Regions from separate parts of the Homo sapiens genome. Here region 2 is linked to region 1. The links are contacts of gene promoters, found by promoter capture Hi-C in blood cells and fetal thymus (Javierre and others, 2016). All regions are on one chromosome and are shown on one strand. The core of a region is centred on a gene start or on the middle of the fragment in contact, and the rest is flanking DNA. Distances in the headings are between cores, read along the strand shown.

Region 1 (3,961 bases), core at 653-3,152:
TTACAGGTGTGAACCACCATGCCCAGCCTAAGAATGGTTAATTCATGGCCAATTTTGTTTAATCTCTACTCCATCCACTTTTCTCTTCCATCATATTTTGAAGTGAGTCTAAGATATTGTGTCATTTTATGGCTATTGCAGCGTGCAGGAAGAGGTATGACATTTTGGAAGATGAGTTGATGGGCCGTGCCACATGGGTATTGTGTCTCTGTGTGCCTGTACATACTCTCTTATGTGGAATTGCAATGGCTGATTTGACTCTTCCAAGTTGGGGGTCTTTTAAGGGCAAAGACCACCCTCCAGTGGCCAGGCTGTCTTCTCCTCCCCATGGAGTGCTTGGTATATGGTGCGACCGTCAGTGTGAACAACCTAGTTCCACTGGAAGAAAGAGGCCTGTTATTGGACCCTTTGGGCTATGGCCATCGAGACCACGGGTAGCTTTTCTGCTCAGGTCACGCTCTGATATGTTGTCAAATAAAACACAGGACACTCAGCTGGGTTTCAGTTTCAGATCAACAACAAATATGCCTGTAACATAAGTATGTCCCACACATTGCCCGGGGCATATTTATAGTAATAAATGACGTTATTTTTCTGAAATTCAAATTTAATCAGGCTTTTTTTTTTTTTTTTGAGATGGAGTTTTGCTCTGTTGCCCAGGCTGGAGTGCAGTGGCGTGATCTTGGCTCACTGCAAGCTCGGCCTCTCGGGTTCACGCCATTCTCCTGCCTCAGACTCCCGAGTAGCTGGGACTACAGGCGCCTGCCACCACGCCCAGCTAATTTTTTGTATTTTTAGTAGAGACGGGGTTTCACCGTATTAGCCAGGATGGTCTCGATCTCCAGACGTTGTGATCTGCCCGCCTCGGCCTCCCAAAGTGCTGGGATTATAGGCGTGAGCCACAGCGCCCAGCCCAGGCATCTTGTTTCTATCTATTTATTTATTTTGTTTTGTTTTTGGCTAAATCTAGTCAATCCTATCCTCTGGTCTTTTCACAGAAATCCTGCAGATCAAAGCCTTTGACCTAGGGCAGTGCTTTTCAAAGGGTGGTCCCAGGACAGCAGCATCAGCAACTCCTAGCTCAAAACAAGATCTCAGGCCAGGCGCGGTGGCTCATGCCTATAATCCAGCACTTTGGGAGGCCCACACGAGTGGATCATTTGAGGTCAGGGGTTCGAGGCCAGCCTGGGCAACGTGGTGAAACCCCGTCCCTACTAAAAAAAAAAAAAAAAAAAAAAAAAAACAAAAATTAGCGGGGCTTGGCAGCATGCACCTGTGATCCCAGCTACTCGGGAGGCTGAAGCAGGAGAATCGCTTGAACATAGGAGGCAGAGGCTGCAATCACCCGAGATTGGGCCACGGCACTCCAGCCTGGGCGAAAGAGCGAGACTCCATCTCAAAAAAACAAAAGCAAAAACAAAAAAATCCCAAAATGTCAGCCCCACCCAGAATGACGGAACCAGAGCCTCTGGGGGTGCTGGCATTTTGTGTTTGACCCCCTCCAGTGATTCTTTTGAGGGTCATTGACTGGAGAATGATGCCGATGCCATCACATTACCCGCCCCCAGCCTCTCCCGCAACACACACACAGCACATCCTGCTCTGCTGCGCACCCAGTGGCATGGACCTGGCTGCCAAAGGTGTAGAAGCATAAGTAACATCAGGGGTGTTACAAAGGGCTCTTTCCTTGGGTGTTTGTAGCTTCCCTTAGGGCTGCAGTCACTCGCAGACTGCTGGGCTCTTGGCCTCAGGGCTCTGTTCTGCCCGCCCAGATCTGTTCCTGAGCCTGCAGACGGCTGTGAACCAGAGAATCTATTCTTCAGGCGGGAGTTGCCAGTTGCGGCCAAGGGGGCGGGGCCCGGAGGCGGGAGGGCCACGTGTGCGGGAGGGAAGCAGGAAGTGACTGCGGGAGTGGAGCCGGCGAGAGAGTGGCAGCGGGGGCTGATGGAAGTGCAGTGGGGGCTGGAGAGGGCACCCTAGTGAGTTGGCTTTTCTCTCCTTCGGTGCCTTTGGTTGGGCTCGAGGCCCGGGGTCGGAGGCCATCAGGACAAGAGTGTGGGACTTGGAAGGGCAGCCACCTGGAGCTTGGAAGGGGGTACGCCTGGAGAGAGGAGGGGTTTGGAGGAGAAATTGGAGGCTTTGGCAGGTGTCGGGGCGGGGTGGGAGGGTGAGGGGCGGTGGGAAGGAAGTCCCCGGACCCCGGCTATGTCCCTCTCCAGGGTGATCTGGAAGGCAATGACATGCCTTCCTTTTACAGTCCTAACCCAAATCCTCTTCGTTCGTCCCTTCCTAGGCGGTGTGTGGGGGTACCCGGGATTCCTGGGAGCAGAGGCAGCTACAAATCCAGCTGCTCCCAGGCCCCTCCCACTTGCTCTGGCTGTTAGCTGGACCTCTGGAACTTGACTGGGAATCTGGTTAACTTGCAGCAGGTCTGGGTGGGGCGTGACAGTGTGCATTTCTAACTAATTCCCAGGTTGGGTGGTCCGCGGACCACGCTTTGAGTAGCGAGGCATTAGAGAACTTTTCCACAGTCCTCTCCGCCCAGACCTGAATCCTTCTGCTGGATTCCCCCTCGTGGAGTTAGGGCATGTGTGTGCAGCTCCACTAAGGCCCAGCAGCCCTAGTGCTGTTTCCACTTCTGCAACTTCACCAGCCTCTTGAACTGACTCTTGGAAGCGGAACAACAGGTTTAAAAGGGGGAGAAAGGAAATAAAGAAAACAAACCTGTATCAATCAGCCGGGAATGCCCATGTGCTGCTGTGGCAGGTGTGTACAAGTCTACAGGCTGTTGGCATGTTAAAAGTTGGAACGGTCAGAGAATGATTCTCCCTGCTGCTAACGAATCAGGGTTGATGGAATTAATATCCCCATCGTGAGGAATTCTGAGCCCCATTGTGTAAGCTGTGATGGAGATGCTGTGTCCTAAAGTTGTTACTGGTCTGCCGGTTAGAGAAAACTTCTTGTTCTCTTGGGACTCTGCCAGAAACTTTTTCTTCTCTTGAGACTCTGCAGAAAACTTTCTGTTCTTTTGGGACTCTTCTTTGCTCTTGCCAATCCCACATGGGGCAGGAGAACTCATTTTCTAAGCTCTTGGTATTGTAGAAGTTTTACCAGTTTTATTTATTTATTTATTTTTATTTTTTTTTGAGACAGAGCCTTGCTCTGTCACCCGGACTGGAGTGCAGTGGCGCGATCTCGGCTCACTGCAACCTCCGCCTCCCGGGTTCAAGCGATTACTCCTGCCTCAGCCTCCCGAGTAGCTGGGACTACAGGCACTGGGACTACAGGCACACACCACGACGCCCAAGTAATTTTTGTGTTTTTAGTAGAGATGGGGTTTCACCGTGTTGGCCAGGCTGGTCTCGAACTCCTGACCTCAGGTGATCTGCCCGTCTTGGCCTCCCAAGGTGCTGGGATTACAGGCATGAGCCACTGCGCCTGGCCAAGTTTTACCAGTTTTAATCTTTTGCTTTCCACAGTTTAATGTGCATAAGAATCCCCCATGGAATTCCACAAAATGCAGACCCTGATTCAGAAAGTCTGGGGTGAGACCTGAGTTTCTGCATTCCTAACTAGCTCCCAAGCCGGACCAGTGCTGCTGGTTCTCTGACCACCCTTGTAGCGAGGATTTAAAACAGCAAATAGAGAAGAAACTTCTCCGAGGGGCACTGGGCTTGCATTGCCCGTGATCAATGCTGCTCCTGTTGGGATGGAAAGGATGGTGGCCTCGGTCTTCCCTCTGTGTCCCTTTTTCTTACTCAGGAGGGTGCTCAGATATACATGGGGACAGGCTTAGACGGGTGTTTCCCTATCCCACTAACCACCAGGAACACCCACGAGCTCCCTCTGTTCTGTTCACCAGCCCACAAGATCCACATTGACTTTGGCCTGTTGGCAAATGTAAATTGTTTGCTCTCTTCTGTAGCTGTCAAGAGGCACATTCAAATACAGGAAAGAAAGG
Region 2 (3,961 bases), core at 1,066-3,565, 130 kb before region 1:
TGAAACTTCAAGGGTTTTGTAATAGGTGCTGCTGCCATGTACATACAGACCTCTAGCCTGTGCTGCTCCGGAGAACGTTCTGCAGTGACGGAAATGTCCTTTATCTGTGCTGGTCAGTGCAGTAGCCACTAGCTACACGTGGCCACTGAGCACTAGAAACAGGGCAGCTGTGACCTAGGAACTGGATGGTTAATTTTAGTTAATTTAAATGTAAATAACCATATGTGGCTAGTGGCTACCGTATTGGACAGTACAGTTCCGGGCAATTTGACTGAAAATTATACCTCCTTTAATTTATTTCTGTTTTCTAACAGGTTCAGAAATCGTTTTGACAGCACATAATTCTTAAATAGAGTACATGCAAATTTGGTCTTTCTTGCATGTCCGAGAACACTTGCCTAAGAAAGATGTGTGATTTTTCTTTAAACCTGGAAATTTTAAGCAGCTTATGCTATCATCTCATAGTAACAATCTAGTGAAGTAATTGTTATATCATAATACCGGCTAGTGTTGCCAGAATAAGCAGGTGAATGTGACCAAGAGGTACTTTTATAAGGGTTTTCAGGGCAAATAGGCAAAGGCAGCCACTCTTATATCAAATGTTGTCATATGGAAGGGAGTACAATTAGGTAACTCGGAATCCTAATTTCAGGGAGTGTAAAAAGAAGAAAACCTTAATTAGGTTAGAGGTTGAAAGCTTAGTCATTAACCTCTTCCTGTTCTTGTTTCAGTCCCAACAGACATTTAAAATTGTTAAGCTTCTTTTTAGAAATGAGTTTTACTAACTTAAGCTTGACCTCGCTGCTGCTGTCTTGTATTTTTGCTCTTAGTGTCCAGTGATGCTGTACTTCCAACTGATAACCTATTGGGATATCATATGCTGAATTATGTTTTCTCAGGCCAGAGGGCAAATTTATATGTTGTTATGGTTTGCAATTCAAGTGTCCAAAACATCGGTTGTTTGGGTTTTTTTTTTTTTCTCCTTGTGATTTAATTTCAGGAAAAGGAGAAGGAATGGCAACGAAGAAGACAACCATCTTCCCCCCCAGACCAAAAGAAGTAGCAGAAACCCTGTCTTTCAGGATTCCTGGGACACAGAGGTAGGAAGTGTGGTCACATAGTCTGTTGTTTTCACTGCTTGAGTTAAATAACCTAGTATCTGCTGTGTAATTAAATTTACTTAAACAGTAATTTAAAATGACCTTAGTTGATTATACTGGTTTAACCTTTCTGTTTCCAAATCAGGGTCCCTTTGAGGAAGCTGTGTACCCTGTCCCCAGCAAAACAGTACATATGTGCACATAGTCATATATGTACACACTCATTTGTATTTGTTAGAAATTTCGTGGCTTTTTGAAAGCCTATGTTTGAACTCACTGTTTTGTATTTCAGCAGCGAACTTCTTTTCTGGTAGTTTATAAACCATGAATTGTCCTTAAGATAAACATATTTTGTTGCTTCAATTCAAATGCCTTTTAAGAGAAACTTTAAGCATGTAAAATATGTAAGGTATGTGTATGCAGAATCCCATTTCTCAGTGTTTTTACTTTTCATTATCTTGTTGTGAAAAGAGCTCCTGTGGTGAGAGGGAAGGGGAGTTGGGTGTTCTGGAACTTTTTTACAATTTTTGATTTCATGAAAGAGTGCTTCAGTACGCAGACTGAGGATACATTTTCTGTGCAATTGGAAGGCTGCTCTGTGCTGGGGAAAGGAAACCAATATAAAGTAATGCTGCTATTAAGTTATGCACCTAGAGATTTTGACCCTTAACAGTTGTCACACTAAGAGAAAAGCCTCAACAACAAAGAGCCCTAGCCTCATAACTCACAGTAGAATTCTCCCACACCCAAATAATTTGTACTTTAATTAGTTCCTGATAATAGGATTTGACCTATATCCAGTCTGTCTTTGCCAGCAATTCAAAGTAACTCCCCCAAGGGGGAAAAATCAGGAACTTTCATGTAGGTAACAGTCATTCAGAGACAGTGAACAAGTGCAGAGTAGAATCCTTCTGTGTGGAGACCTGAGTTTCTATAGCTGTTTTTCCTCTTCAAATATTTTCCTGGCCGAGCGCAGTGGCTCATCCCTATAATCCCAGCCCTTTGGTAGGCCAAGGTGGGCAGATCACGAGGTCAGGAGTTCGAGACCAGCCTGGCCAACATGGTGAAACCCCATCTCTACTAAAAATACAAAAAATTAGCTGGGTGTGGTGGTGCACGCCTGTAATCCCAGCTACTTGGGAGGCTGAGGTGGGAGAATGGCTTGAACCCAGGAGGCAGAGGTTGCAGTGAGCTGAGATCGTGCCGTTTTACTCCAGCCTGGGCAACAGAGCAAGACTCCGTTTCAGAAAAAAAAAAAAAAAAAATATATATATATATATATTATATATATATATATTTTTTTCCTATTTGCTTTTTTCTTTTCTTTTTAAAAAATGATTATCAGAAAGGTAATTGAGCTTTGTTTAATGTAATAGTTGGGAATCTCAGGGATGAAAGAAAACAAGATTAGAGGCTACCATGAATATCTAATGATAAAACCCTGTAATAGTAATTGAGTTTCCATTCTTTTGAATTGTAAGACTATTCATTAAAAGAGTATGCAAAGATTACTTCTATGGTGTTGGCCATCAGTATTTCCTTACTTGTGTCTGTATGTAAGTCCTGCTATATGATGTTCATTTCAGTCAAGGGTATGGTAGGTCTAACTCTCTGTATTAACGTTTTTTTCCCGTATCTGCCAGTTTTGAAGCCTGAGAACAGCAATAGAAATTGCCATCTTTTTCTTGCTTTTGTCTCTTGGTTAAAAAAAAAGAAAGAAATTGTCATCCTTTTTTAAAAAAATTAACATTTCTGATCTCTTAAGTAAGGCAGATATTGTAGATTTTTAAATTTTATTTATTTATTTATTTAGTTTTTGGTACAAAATGACCTTTACTCTCTTTCTAAAATCCGTGCATTGGTCTCACAGAAGAAAACAACGTCTTGTTACTCAACCTCCTGGGTTCTCTAGCTGAGCTTGTCCTTACTTGTCCAAAGAAATTCAGTTGTTGAGCCACTCCGTAATCATTATCTGAAGGAAGGACTAGATTGTCTTCCTTATCGTTTAAGGTCATTACTGGTAGTTTCTGTCTGAACTCACTGGTAGATCACCTAATGGGGTGTTACAACCATTAGTTTCAGCCTTGCTTACTGAACATTGACCAGAATAGCCTGCTGTGCCGTCCTGTGCTGTCCTGTCCTGTCCTATCCTATGCTGTCCTGTCCTGTCCTGTGCTGTGCTGTGCTGTGCTGTGCTGTGCTGTCCTGTCCTGTGCTGTGCTGTGCTGTGCTGTCCTGTCCTGTCCTGTCCTGTCCTGTCCTGTCCTGTCCTGTCCTGTGCTGTGCTGTCCTGTCCTGTGCTGTCCTGTCCTGTCCTGTCCTGTGCTGTGCTGTGCTGTGCTGCGCTGTGCTTCCTGGCAGTGGTATTAACAAGTAACAAGGACAAGTGAATGATGAGAGAGCCAGAGAAGCAAAAGGCAGAGGGAATATCTTTTAAAATGGAAAGTTAAGCCCCAAATAATGAAGTTTTCACTACTGGAATAAATGATTATGTTTGTAGCAGCAAAAAATCAAGTTTAGGGACATTTGGCTGGTTTTTGATGATTGTGTATAAAAGGGAAAATAAAACAATTCATTTTTAATTATATTAACAATTTAGACAAAATATTTTATTAATAACATTACTAATGAAAATGTTTTCTTTTAATTCTGAGGTAGGGCCATGAGGTCAGTTTCCTTGAAACTTAAGTTATGTAAGAGAAACCATTTCCTATGTTTTCCCTGAATGAATAAGCTTTGTCACCCAGACTGGAGTGCAGTGGTGTGATCTCAGCTCACTGCAACCTCTACCTCCCAGGCTCAAGCAATACTCCTACATCAGCCTCCCAAGTAGCTGGAACTACAGGCACATGCTACCATGC

Evidence for each region. The method cuts DNA at HindIII sites, captures the fragments that hold promoters and counts their contacts. A CHiCAGO score of 5 or more calls a contact.
Region 2: a contact is called between a fragment that was not itself captured here and the fragment with the promoter of SLC39A11 in region 1, in 1 of 17 cell types (neutrophils). The highest score is 5.2, in neutrophils.

The regions. Positions count from the first base shown.
Region 1 is chr17:73,090,629-73,094,589 of GRCh38, reverse strand. It overlaps SLC39A11 (solute carrier family 39 member 11), which reads left to right and starts at 1,902. Exons shown (of 10, transcript NM_139177.4): 1 at 1,902-1,979. RefSeq lists a silencer at 2,742-2,973 and an enhancer at 3,944-3,961. The HindIII fragment of the contact is 20,423 bases long and covers 1-3,961 here.
Region 2 is chr17:73,224,304-73,228,264 of GRCh38, reverse strand. VCF1 (VCP nuclear cofactor family member 1) reads left to right here. Exons shown (of 4, transcript NM_001098832.2): 2 at 1,001-1,100. Among named protein-coding and RNA genes, the nearest start is that of VCF1, 6.1 kb to the left of the region's middle. The HindIII fragment of the contact is 3,043 bases long and covers 794-3,836 here.